Linked DNA regions of Homo sapiens: regions 1 and 2 are each linked to region 3. The links are contacts of gene promoters, found by promoter capture Hi-C in blood cells and fetal thymus (Javierre and others, 2016). All regions are on one chromosome and are shown on one strand. The core of a region is centred on a gene start or on the middle of the fragment in contact, and the rest is flanking DNA. Distances in the headings are between cores, read along the strand shown.

What was found. Contacts are between HindIII fragments. The CHiCAGO score rates a contact against its expected background, and 5 or more counts as called.
Region 1: a fragment that was not itself captured here is called in contact with the fragment with the promoter of BLNK in region 3 in 1 of 17 cell types (endothelial precursors); the score reaches 5.0 in endothelial precursors.
Region 2: a fragment that was not itself captured here is called in contact with the fragment with the promoter of BLNK in region 3 in 1 of 17 cell types (endothelial precursors); the score reaches 5.7 in endothelial precursors.

What each region holds. Positions count from the first base shown.
Region 1 is chr10:95,997,329-96,001,944 of GRCh38, reverse strand. The region is part of intron 24 of CC2D2B (coiled-coil and C2 domain containing 2B); the gene reads right to left. The region is part of intron 2 of ENTPD1-AS1 (ENTPD1 antisense RNA 1); the gene reads left to right. It also overlaps the pseudogene RPL21P90. Among named protein-coding and RNA genes, the nearest start is that of CCNJ, 44 kb to the left of the region's middle. The HindIII fragment of the contact is 7,823 bases long and covers 1-4,616 here.
Region 2 is chr10:95,971,399-95,975,860 of GRCh38, reverse strand. It overlaps CC2D2B (coiled-coil and C2 domain containing 2B), which reads right to left. Exons shown (of 35, transcript NM_001349008.3): 16 at 3,645-3,795; 17 at 1,705-1,852. The region is part of intron 2 of ENTPD1-AS1 (ENTPD1 antisense RNA 1); the gene reads left to right. Among named protein-coding and RNA genes, the nearest start is that of CC2D2B, 66 kb to the right of the region's middle. The HindIII fragment of the contact is 1,129 bases long and covers 2,643-3,771 here.
Region 3 is chr10:96,269,863-96,274,418 of GRCh38, reverse strand. It overlaps BLNK (B cell linker), which reads left to right and starts at 2,850. Exons shown (of 17, transcript NM_013314.4): 1 at 2,850-3,067. The coding sequence starts at 3,021. RefSeq lists enhancers at 970-1,029, 1,160-1,209, 1,696-1,795, 3,905-3,954, 3,985-4,104. The HindIII fragment of the contact is 529 bases long and covers 2,503-3,031 here.

The sequences.
Region 1 (4,616 bases), core at 428-2,927, 270 kb after region 3:
ATAACAGATTTCCCTTTAAGTCAATAATTTCCTTCACACACAAAGAATAAATAGTTCAAGAAAGCAAGTGTCAGAAAACAAGGCAAAGTGAGAGGTACAAGATTCAGACAGGCAGCCAAATAACAAGAATATCTGTTTAGGAACTCTGGCCAATGACTCTGAAAATATAATTGAGCCTATGTTGAATCTGGAAGAACAAATTTGATTTCTGCTAATAGCAGAAGTTCCATAGTATCTAAGCTAACAAAATTCTAAGGTGTGCTTCCTTATAGTTCCCCTACCCCTAATTTGAAATAATGGCATAAACAGGGTCTCCCTTTCCTTGCAAATCCTGTTTAGGATCTGAAGCCTTTCACTTTCAGAAGGGGTGGCTGGGATGTGAATGTTTATATAGCCTCCAAGATGTCATCACATATATGCAAGTGATTATATCGGTTCTTCTGAGTTCCTTTAGCCTTTGTTAGTGGGGTTATATATTAACATAGGCTTCAGATAAAGCATAGAAATCCTATAAAATCATATAAACGATGAAAACATGAAATATAAAATATTCGTAGGAAATTATAGAAAATAAATTATAAAAAAATATAAAATGATGGCTAATCCACGACAATCCTGCTCTATGTGTATGAATAAGAAGTAAATTTTCCCACCTTTCAAAATAAAAAGAAACATATTATTTGAAAAAATGTTTAGATGTTTAATAGCTACACATACCTGCTCATGAGAGAAATTTATACCCAGCAGTAAAGCATAGCAATACTAAAGGAAGTGGCAATGGAATTAGATCCATTTTACTGGGTCTGTGTGTGTGTGTATGTGTGTGTCCCTAAACACCACATAAAGGATTATTCTAGTCTATATCTGTTTTATTCCTTCTTGGTAGCAAGCAGGAACATAGGTGTATATTTCTTTTTGGATTTAAAAATCTGATTTATTAACTATTTTAACTAAAAATACTTTTATATACAGGAATGTTATTGAAAAAGATATCCTCACTCATTCTTCAGAAAATGCGATGGTCTAAAATTTTAATGCAAGTTGACATATGTTCTAAAGTAAGGAAAGTAAAGGAAGACCACTATTTATTAAAGAAGATTTTTTTAAAAGGACATACCATAAAGGAAAGGACTGGTACAGTTTAAAACTTCTTTTCATCAAAATGCATCATAAAGAAAATGAAAAGTCAAGCCATTAGGGAAAGATAGTTTTAACACATATAACTCACAAAGGGCTGGTATCCATAATATATAGAGAATTGCTTTAAAAAAAATAAAGACAGGCCGGGCACGGTGGCTCACACCTGTAATCCCAGCACTTTGGGAGGCCGAGGCGGGAGGATCATGAGGTCAGGAGATCAATACCATCCTGACTAACATGGTGAAACCCTGTCTCTATCAAAAATACAAATAAATTAGCTGGGCGTGGTGGCAGGCACCTGTAGTCCCAGCTACTCGGGAGGCTGAGGCAGGAGAATGGTTCGAACCTGGGAGGCAGAGCTTGCAGTGAGCCCAGATCGCGCCACTGCACTCCAGCCTGGGCGACAGAGCAAGACTCCGCCTCAAAGATAAATATATAAATACATTTTATTTATTTATTTATTTATTTATTATAAATAAATAAAGACAGACGAAACAATAGAAAAATAGAGAAAAGTATCCTTTCGGCTGGAGCAGCCATCTTCCAGTAATTCGCCAAAATGATGAACGCAAAGGAAAAGAAGAAAGGCACCTGATGTATGTTCTCTAGGCCTTTTAGAAAACATGGAGTTGTTCCTTTGGCCATGTATATGCGAATCTATAAGAAAGGTGATATTGTAGACATCAAGAGAATGGATATTGTTTAAAAAGGAATGCCCACAGGTGTTACCACGGCAAAACTGGAAGAGTCTACAATGTTACCCAACATGCTGTTGGCATTGTTGTAAACAAAGAAGGGCAAGATTCTTGCCAAGAGAATTAATGTGTGTATTGAGCACATAAGTGCTCTAAGAGCTGAGATAGCTTCCCGAAACACGTGAAGGAAAATGATCAGAAAAAGAAGCCAGAGAGAAAGGTACCTGGGTTCAACTGAAGTGCCAGCCTGCTTCACCCAGAGAAGCACCCTTTGTGAGACCCAATGGGAAGGAGCCTGAGCTGCTGGAACCTACTCCCTATAAAGTCATGGCATAATTGGTGTTAAAAAAAAAAAAAAAAAAAAGACCTCTGGACTGTAAAAATGTTTCTCTTCATTGAGAAGAAGTGTGGTGTCCTCTCTCTCAAATAAATATTTAAAGCAAATTTTAATTGTGTCCTAATGCATTATATAATGTCTTTACTAGTCAAATTTAATGTATTTCTTGCTTAGATGTGAGGTGGCTTATTGTGCAACAAATTACTCAATTGGTTAGAAAACAGTCAGATATTATTTATGAAATATTTGTACTGGTTTGAAGATAGTCCCTCTAAATCATCATGGAAGAAATAAAATAATTTCCAAAAAGAAAAAAAAAAGAAAAACAGACAAAAGTAATGAAAGGTCATTTCACAGAAAAGAAAATACCAATGACCAATGAACCTATGGAAAGAAGCTCAATGTGGATAAATAAGTAAACTGTGATACATCCATATAATAGAATATTATGCAGGGGTAAAAAGAAGTAAGCAATCAAGCTATAAAAAGACATGGAGAAAACTTGACAGGCATGTTTTTCATGGAAGAAAGCCAATCTGAAATGGCTCCATACTGTATGATTCCAACTATATGACTATGATGGCTAATTTTATGTGTCAACTGGGCTGAGACACAGTTTCTAGATATTTGGTCAAACATTATTCTAGATGTTTCTCTGAAGGTTTTTTTGTTTGTTTTTTGTTTTTTTCTTTGAGACGGAGTCTCCTTCTGTCGCCCAGGCTGGAGTGCAGTGGCGCGATCTCTGTTCACTGCAACCTCCTCCTCCTGAGTTCAAGCGATTCTCCTGCCTCAGCCTCCCAAGTAGCTGGGATTACAGGCATCCACCAGCACAGCTCACCATCTTGGCCAGGCTGGTCTCAAACTCTTGACCTCTAGTGATCCACCCGCCTCGACCTCCCAAAGTGCTGGGATTACAGATGTGAGCCACTGCACCTGGCCTCTGAAGGTATTTTTTAGGTACAGTTTAAGCCAGTTGACTTTGAGTAAAGCAGATAACCCTCCATAATAAGGGTGGACCTTATCCAATCAGTTGAAGGCCTTAATAGACAAAAGACTGACCTCCCCTGTGGAAGAGGGAATTCTGCCAGCAGATTTCCTTCAGACTTAAACTGCAACTCTTTCCCAAGTCTCCAGCTTGCCATCCTACCCTGCACATTGTGGACTTGCCAGCCTCCACAATCATGTGATCCAATTCCTTAAAATAAATTTCTCTCTCTCTCTCTCTGTCTACATCCTATTGTTTCTGTTTCTCTGGAGAACCTTGATGTACACAATGACATTCTTTAAAAGGCAAAACTGTGAAGGCAGTAAAAAGATCAGTGGTTGGCAAGGTTCCAGGGGGAGGGAGGGATGAATAGACAGAGCACACAGGATGTTTAGGGGAGTGTAACCATTCTGTGTGATACTATAATGGTAGATACATGTCACTGTACATTTGTCAAAACCTATAGAATGTACAACACCAAGAGTAAACCCTAACGTTAAATATGGACTATGGTTGATAGTGATGTATCAATGTTGGCTCATTGATTGTAACAAATATCACACAATGCAGATGTTGATGCTGAGGGAGCTGTGTGTGTGCTGTGGTGAGGGCATTTGTGGGAACTCTGTACTTCCCATCCAATTTTCTTGTGAGCCTAAAATTGCTCTAAAAATAAAGTCTCTTAATTTAAAAAAAATTGAAAAAAAAACTGCCTCTTTAAAAAGAAATTATAAATTAAACCACAATGAGAATATAATTTTAGATCCACCATATTGAGAAAAATAATTTTTAAAACACAAAATATTATGAAGACATGGCACAAAAGGAAATTGTATATACTGCTGTTGGGAGTGTATATTGATATAATCACTTTAGAAAAGAGTTTGCATTGTCCAGTAAAGTTGAAGCTGACTTCAGCTACAACCTAGCAATTCCACTTTTGAACACATATCCTAGAAAACAGGTTCTCAAAGTGTCACCTGACTAGTAGCATTAGAACCACTGGGAACTTGCTAAAGATGGAATTATCAGACCCTACCCCAGACCTACTGAATTAGAAACTACAGAAGTGGGCTTACCAATCTGTGTTTTAAGAAGCAGGCCAGGTGTGGTGGCTCATGCCTGTAATCCCAGCACTCTGGGAGGCCAGGCAGGAGGATCATTTGAGCCCAGGAGTTTGACACCAGCCTGGGCAACATAGTGAGACCCTAGTGCTACAAAAATAAAAATAAATTAGCTGGGTGTGGTGGTACACTCCTGTAGTCTCGGCTACTTGGGAGGCTGAGGCAGGAGAATCACTTAAGCCCAGGAGTTTGAGGCAGTGAGCTATGATTATACAACTGCACTTCAGCCTGGGCAACAGAGTGAGATCCTGTCCTAATTAAAAAAAAAAGCTGTCTAGATGATTTGAATGCATAAAAAGGTCTGAGAGCCACTGTCTTAAAAAGAAACTCTTGCA
Region 2 (4,462 bases), core at 1,958-4,457, 300 kb after region 3:
TTTTCCACTGGCTCCAAAATGAATTACCTTTAATAACTGTAAGATTTGCTCTTAAAATGACCTTCTCCAGGTCTCTAAGAAGATGACCTCATTTACTTAGCAAAACAAGGACATCCATCAAAGTTCCATTTCTGTTTTCATAGTGATGACTGTCCCATTCCCTGAGTTGAGGAAGAGAGAGTTTCTCTTCTCCAGAACCACAGTTATTCACTTGGGTTCTGGTTTGATACCTTCCTGACTCTGAAGGACCTTATACTCTTTCCAATATATTGGGTCTTTTTCCCCACTGATTTCAATCTTTTGTAAGCTCATCACTTTTAATCACTTCTTTTAAGAAGATAAATATGGCCCCAATTTTTAAGAAATCTGTACCTTGATTCTTTTGTCTTCTGTTATTTTTTAGCATTTTTTTATTGTCAAACTCCTTGGTAAGTAAACTACCCCCACTATGTCAGTTTCGTCCATACCAACGATCTCCTTGTGCTACTGCCATTTAGCTTTTTTCTCTTTGTTTCTTATGTACCGAAGAAAAGCATTTATGAACTCTTACTATGACTCTGGCCATATGCTACTGGTTTTTATATATAATGTTCTCCCTGTTCTTTTTTAAACAGTCTCTAATTTCAGTTTTGATTTTCCATTTAATCCAGTTATGTATAACAATTTTCAAAACTATAATATTTTTAAAACATAATTTTTTAGAGAAGTTTTAGATTTGCAGCAAAATTGAACAAAAGGCACAGAGAGTTCCCATGTACCCCATCCCCATAAACATGCACAGCCTCCCCAGCTGTTAACATCCCTCGCTGGAGTGGTACCTTTTTTTACAATCCATGAACCTACATTGACACATCATTGTCACTCAAAGTCCATAGTTTACATTAGGGTTCACCCTTGGTCTTGTAAATTCTGTAGGTTTTGACAACTGTGTAATGACATGTATCCACCATTATAATGTTATGCAAAATAGTTTCACTACTCTAAAAATCCCGTGTGCTCCAACTATTCATTCTTATCTCCCCCTAGAACCTCTGGCAACCACTGATCTTTCTACTGTCTCCACAGTTTTGCCCTTTCTAGAATGCCATAAGTTATATGAAGCTTTTCATTTCCGTTTATTTTTAAAAATATGTGTTAAGATGTGGAGGGGAGAGGATATCTTTTTGTTATCATTGTTCATTATTTTAAATGATGAAATAAACTTTTTCCTTTATATTTACCATTTCCCTCAAACATAGCACATTATGGAAGCCAGCATTATCATCATTTTCATAGAATTTACTGTACTTATTTCTAGTAATCCCACAAATAATTAATCTGAAAATTAACCCCAACCCTTCTGGGAACTCCCAGAATGATGATAATGCATAAATGATTCTTTGCTAATCCAGAATGACTGGGAGATATACAGGCCCCAGAAATAAAGTCCCTGGGAGTCTTGACCTTTGCCTACAAGTGAGGGACTCTGGGAATGCCTCTCTCATCATCTGTGTGGCTATAATTCCAAGCACTGAAGGGACACATTCTCTTACATATAAATACACATACTGCCTTAGTAGAGTGATTTAAATAAAAGATAAATCAACATTCAAATAGACTAAACTCTTCCTATTGCTGCTCAAGTTTTCTCTTTTACACATAATATGTTTTGTGTGATGCTTTGCTGAGACCTGGCATTATTTTTCAAAGATAAAAGTTTATTACCTGCAGTAAGAAGATCTTAATGATTGTGGCATAGGTATCAGAGGAAGACCATTTTCATCTAAGCTCCATGATAGAGAATAGCTAAGTTTTCCTGATGTCAAAAGACAGAGTTCTTCAGTTCCATTTCCCTCAAGAAGAAAAGGCACATCTGTTTATAAAAGGCATTAAAAACATATGAATTGTTTTAAGTGCAGTTGAAGCACATTGTGGGTTTTTTCCTGAGTTTTACTTGTGGAACTCTAGGAACACAAAGGAAGATCTGTGCTAACCCCACTCTTTTTTTTTTTTTTTTTTTGAGACAGAGTTTTGCTCTTGATGCCCAGGCTGGAGTAAAGTGGGGCAATCTCAGCTCCCTGCAACCTCCACCTCCTGGGTTCAAATGATTCTCCTGCCTCAGGCTCCCAAGTAGCTGGGATTACAGGTGTCAACCACCATGCCTGGCTAATTTTTTGTATTTTTTAGTAGAGATGGGGTTTTACCATGTTGGCCAGGCTGGTCTCGAACTCCTGACCTGAGGTGATCCACCTGCCTGGGCCTCCCAAAGTGCTAGGATTACAGGTGTGAGCCACCACGCCCGGCCCTAACTCCACTCTTATCTTAGTGCTCTCCCTCATCTCCTCTCTAAGATCCTTCAAGGACTACAAAAGAGAAGGTAAAGATTGAGATGAATATGTAGAGATGAATATCATGATTTTCTTCCTTTCATGCCTGGAGGCTTCTTAACCATTCTCTGTGGGAGTGGCTTCCAGCAAGAAAGGACCATTGGCAGCAGAAAAAGAGGCCAGCAAGCTGTTCTTTCTCCTCTTTCCTTACATTCCCAAGTCTTCTGCATCTAATCTCCAAAGAGTTTAACAATACTTCTTAAAACTTTTGCTGAGTGCACAGTGTTCCCTAAATTTTTTGAGTCCTGAGTCTTTTGTCCCGGGTCTCCATAAGCTTATTTTTCTGCTTCATCTGGACTTGAAGCAAACTCCGTTCTTCCCTCGTTCTCTGCCCATTTCCCCCCGCCCCCTCCTCCTTGCTCACTTGTTCATACTTCCTTACTTTTCACCAAATAGGCCCAAGTAGTTTCCAAACCCCTAGGAAGGTGAAAGAAAGGAATAATGGGGAGAAGGAGAGGAATGACAGTGATCTCAGAGACGCACTAACTTACATTTAACCGTATAAGAGGAGTAAAATCAATTGAAAAACAACTAACAGAAACATCCCTTCTTTCTTCTCTCCTTTTCTCTGTCCCTCCCTCTTTCCTTCCCTCCCTCATTTTCTTCTTCCCTTCCCTATACAGTTCAAAGACAAACCCATATGTCTGCGAGCACCTGTAGGTTCACTAAAGGAGAGGTCGAGGCAGAGCAGCCAGCCCACTCAAAAGCAGAGCTTGCTTTCCAGACAGCATTCTGTCCTTGCCTTGGATGGCCTGCAAAAAGCGTGGGTGCTAACTGCTCATTTGAAATTTCCCAAAAATCTGACCCAAGACAAAACTTTAAACAATCTAGTTTAACATCTGAATGAATAATTTAATTCATTTTTAACAGAATAAACACAGGGCCAGGTGCGGTGGCTCACGCCTGTAATCCCAGCACTTTGGGAGGCTGAGGGGGGCGGATCACCTGAGATCAGGAGTTTGAGACCAGCCTGGTTAAAATGGTGAAACCCTGTCTCTACTAAAAATACAAAAATTAGATGGGCGTGGTGGCAGGGATCTGTAATCCCAGCTACTGGAGGCACGAGAATTGCTTGAACCTGGGAGGTGGAGGTTGCAGTGAGCTGAGATCGAGCCACTGCACTTCATCCTGGGTGAGATTCTGTCTCAAACAAACAAACAAACAAAAAAGAATATTGTAAATACAGGATTTTGTACTTATGTGAGTGAGCCAGGGTCACTTAGGAATATGGTACTCAGGAAGAAAATAGGGGGAATGTAATATTTTTAATAAACTCACTGCTTCCTACTTCTCCATCGGCAGGCATGACCAGCTTATCAGAGCTAAACTCTACATATTGCAAAGCGGTTTTGCCTTTCAGCTCTGTGTAGTTAGGTAAAGGTATATATAGTTTTGCCAGTAAGCTTGTCCTTTTACTTTTTTCATAAACCTAAATATAAAAGAAATGGCTGATAGATCACTAAAAATACAACACAGAAAAAGGAAAAAATAAGCACCCTTAACAACATATATTTTTTTAAATACCAGAATATAAAATAAGTATTGCTCTATAGCATTTCATCCACATGATTATGAGAAAAGCAGCCAGTCATGTCCTTGAAAGTGTAATGCCTTTTACTGGCTCCATAGAAAATGAATTGAATACAAGGGATTATGAATACAGTTCTGAGAATAAATATATGAGGTACATATAACATAATATCATAGCAATTTTGAGTAGCACTTTAAAAATTCTTTATCTCATGTAAATCTGATAAAAATTATAGGAAATAAATATTATTCTCATTTTATAAGTGAGGAAATGGAAGCTGTATATGAAAATATGTTTGTTTTTATTATAAGTGGTTGAGACTCAGGTTGAATTGCTTAGGAAAAAGGTAGTGATTGGTCATGAAATTCAAGGATGAGTTAAACAAGCTATGGGAGTGGTGAGGGAGGAAAAGCTCCAGAAGAAAGGAAAAGGGGGTGCTGAGTAGACAGTCCCATAGAGGTTCACTGGGCATGAAACCCAGGTCTTCTAATTCTATATGGTGTGTTTTTTACTACAATTCCATATAAGTTTACTGCCATAACTATAACTTTTTTCTTTCTTTTTT
Region 3 (4,556 bases), core at 1,601-4,100:
TTTAAGGTTGGGATTGTCAATTTCTCATCTGTGAATCTAGTGATTCATTAATTTCCATGTCCACTGTGCTATGTAGACCGACCTTAAAGGCTTATCATGGTATATCGTTCTGTGTGCGCTGTGGAACCACGTTGTGTGGTTTCATTCCTTTTATAAGTTACCAACTAAGGCTTGGTATCATCAGTTTCCATCTTTGCATTAACCTTTTTGGTAATCCAGTTATGGGGCCTGTCATTTGTATTTTGACTTTCATTTATGGTGCATTTGTCACATAAAAGTTTAAATTTATATGTATCTAGATTTACCACTGTTTTTCCTTTTTGTGTTTTGCTTAAAAAGGTTTTCCCCGGCCAGGTGTGGTGGCTCACATCTGTAATCCCAGCACTTTGGGAGGCCGAGGCGGGCGGATCACGAGGTCAGGAGATCGAGACCATCCTGGCTAACACGGTGAAACCTTGTCTCTACTAAAAAATACAAAAAATTAGCCAGGCATGGTGGCGGGTGCCTGTAGTCCCAGCTACTCAGGAAGCTGAGGCAGGAGAATGGTGTGAACTCAGGAGGCGGAGCTTGCAGTGAGTCAAGATCGTGCCACTGCACTCCAGCCTGGGTGACAGCAAGACTCCGTCTCAAAAAAAAAAAAAAAAAAAAAAAAAAAAAACAGGTTTTCCCCACTTCAAAATTAGAGTCAAATAATTTAAAATTTTCATTTAGTCATGGAGCAACTTAGAAGCCAAAGCAGTTGTGGCAGGCCTGGAACATTAGGCTGTCACACTGTATTTCACATGGGGTAAAATGTCCAGTCTGGAAACACAGTCTCTCATTTTCATCATGTTAGACTAAATACAGTAAAAAGAAGAAAGACCAGTGGCTGTAAAAAGAAAAAGCAGAAGTGTAACCTTTGCCTCTGGTCTTTTTCTCTGGGGAAATATGAAGTTGTCAGCCAGGTGTTGAGCAAAGTTGTTGGTGGAGAGAAAAGTCAAGTGACTTATGGGGTGCATTTTACAATAATTCAGAAAGAACGAGCTGACTATTATCATTTCATTCAGTGAAGCCTGAATTTCCTGATCTTTGATGACATTGTATGTGCCTTTACCATCCTAGTCTACTTGTTTCTTTCAGTTAGGAACTATGGGAGAGGAGGAGGCAGGGTCTAGAGCTCCTTCAGGATGCACTGCAAGAAAATTGAGCAGCCAGATTGGGGAAAATGAATGATGGCAGGAGACAAGCACTTGCATTTTTCTCATGCAACATTGTCTGCTCTCTTGCTGGCCTGGCCAAGTCAGTGTCCTGGCCAAGCAGAAGGGCCCCACCCTTCAACAGCTCTGAAGATTCTGCTCCTAAACATCTGGTCAAACCAGAAATTCATAGGCAGTGATGAATGTGAATAATCAAGGTTACCTGGAAAAAGACAGAACATCCATTTGTGCAAAGAAGAGGCACAGGAGGGAAGAAATCCATCCACGGTTTCCACCTCTACCACTGCCGCTGTTCCTTCTCCCCCTCCTCCTCTGTCTCCTCCTCCTCCGCTTCTTCTTCCTCCTCCTCCTCCGCTTCTTCCTCCTCCTCCTCCTCCTCTTCCTCCACCTCCTTCTCCTCTTCTGTCTTCTCCTCTTTCCCCACTGTCTTCAGCCAGATCTTGGGTCTGCAACAGGAGAGGTAACTGAGAGCTCTTTACTTTGTCCTGCTGTGTATTCTGACCCAGGAGAAGACTGGTTCCCTTGATAAATGTTGGAAACGTGTACTTTATTCCACAAGGGTGAGCAGGGCATTCTCAATGGCTGCAGAAAAGTGTGTCCAGGTACAAAAGGTCACTTCCCTCCCATTTTCTTCCTCCTTGACCCTGGACTGCGGGCTGCTCTTTAAACAACAGGTAAATCAGCATTTTTCAGATTAGGCAGAAGGAAATATAAAGTCTTCCAGGAGGGAAGTAGAGTTCTCTGAATAGGTTCAGCCCCTACAGGTATGGCTCCCTCCTCCCAGCCTCACCCCACCTGTCTGACCTTGAGATGGCCTCGTGTCTGGCGTGTCACTGGGTGTGATGAGCAAGTGGTGGACAGGACAGAAAGAGGCAAATGCAAGGAGGGGAATGGCATTCTGCTTTTAGGACTTCAGAATGGCCTGATGTAGGAATTGCATTGTTGTGAAACTGTTAGATTTGTTCTCATCTGACTTTTGGGTACATCCTGGTTTGTTTGAAAGCATCTGGCTATCGGCGAGGTAACTCCTGACTCTATCAGGCAATAAGGAGGCTGCACATCTGACGATAGAGTTCATCTCCCCTTTCCTGAGTCATCCATCCCTACCCCCAGATGAACAGAGAATTGCCCATCCCATTTTAAATAGAGCTCCAGAAAAAGAGATACTCTAATTCTCTGAGTAAACTGTTACCACCATGCCACTGACAACCTGATATTTATTTTTAAACGTATTGCCCGCATCGGGGGGTAGGAAAAAGCACAAAAATGCCATTTTTATATAATGGTTCTATAAGTAGAAAAAGCTTATCCATAACTTTATGCAAATAAGCAGAAAGTCTCCAAGAGAGGTTCAGATGGACTTGATTACTCTGCTTTTCCTTGAGCCCAGGAAGTTCCCAGTTATAGCATGCACCTGCTGGAAACAGACTATATGTGTTTGGGACAAACAGGAAGTAGTGACCAGCCAGAAACTTGTCCTAACCTGGTTACAAATCTGATTGTAAAAGAAAGCAGCTGGAAAGAAATTTGCCTGCCCAATAGGTTTCATTATTAAAGTTTACACAAAGTGGAGTAATCACCAAGCTGGCTGGCTATCCAGATCACATGATTATGTAGAAACATGAAACTTGACTATGTGCTCGGGCAAGTTTTACTTCTCCCTAGAGCAGGGGTGTTTGCCAGCAGCCTGCACTCTCAGAAATCAGACTTGAGTGGCCGGAACCCTTGAGACCAGAGGCTTACCATGCTGCTCCCTAGGAGGGCCAGGAACTGCTGACGTGACCACTGGACAGTTATTCGTGTCTCTTACAATTACCAAACAGAATGGACAAGCTTAATAAAATAACCGTCCCCGCCAGTCAGAAGTTGAGGTAAGATTTTCCCCACCCAATACCCTTCTTCATCTCCTTTTTTTCCCCCCAGTGCTCTTATGGCATCTCAGAAATACTGAAATCCTGGAATGCTTTGCTAGTTTCCAGTGGGTGGCACTTACTATAGGGAAGTGGACTGAGCTTTTAGGGAAAGCATTGGGTGGCACTTGCTATAGGGAAGTGAACTGAGTTCTTAAAGAAATGTGTAGGAACAAGAGAGACTTGCTTTAGCTGCCTCTTACAATAAAGTGTAAAGCTCTGGAAAGATAATAAAACAAATGCCAAGGGCTTAGATTCTACTGAAGGTCAACTTTTAGAATCTGAATGCAACCAACTTTTCTAAGGAAGGGTTTCTCTAAACTGAGTCCTCACCCATTTTATTGCAGGTTACTATTTAATTTTAAGGATAGCTGTAATCATTTGTTATTCATTGTTTTATTGTCTCATTTATTTTGTGGGTGTATATGACAAGTGTGTTTGGGGGGATTAGATCTGTCTTTCCAATGCCCTCATGTCAATGTAACAATATCCATAACAAGCCTCTCAAAAAGAATAAACCAGAAGCGGCCCCATGGGCGTGAGTCAAGGAGCTATGGAAAAGACAACTTCCCCAAATTTTGCTTTTGAAGGTCTTCTTTTTGTCTCATTGTAATGGCATCATGGCTTTCAGAGACTGGAACTTTTAAAGTTCTGGGAGTGCAGTTTTTTTTTCACATTTTTTAACAGTTTTTTTTTTTTATTATACTTTTAAGTTCTGGGGTACATGTGCAGAAGGTGCAGGTTTGTTACATAGGTATACACATCCCATGGTGGTTTGCTGCACCCATCGACCTGTCATCTACATTAGGTATTTCTCCTAATTCTCTCCCTCCCCTAGTCCCCCACCTTGACAGGCCCCGGTGTGTGATGTTCCCCTCTGTTCAGGGAGTGTTTTCTATTCTGACTACATATTAGAACTTAGCCAAATGTTCAGGGGGTGATGTGACACATGTAGCAGACAAGTAATCACAGATAACAATGAGCCAGAGAATTGAAGCTTTTGAGACAATATTTAAGAGAAAGTCTGGATTGGCAGAGGGACAACCCTTCACAGTAGAATACAGGTCTTATGCCTAGGAGGTGCTTGGTAAAAGGTAATGTGAAATGCATCAATGATCTGGGATCAGTAGGCAACATCAGCTGTGTTCAACCATTTCAAGAACATGCTGTTGAGTGCTGCTGTGTGATCAGCACTGACGGGACAAGAAGGCACCTCATTCTTGCCCTTGGTCTCAAATAGCTACACCCTCATGAGGGGCGGGGGTGATACAATGGAAGCTGTAAGCGACAGAAGGAATGTAAGAAGAGACTTAGAGTAGCAGGAGGAGGTTTCATAGAGAAGATACTTTTAAGAGGTAGGCTTTGAGAGGTGGGTAAAATTATAAAATACTGGAGAATTGGAGGAAACATGTTATGTGCTGGGAGGGAGGAAATACAGAGGCTGTCACTC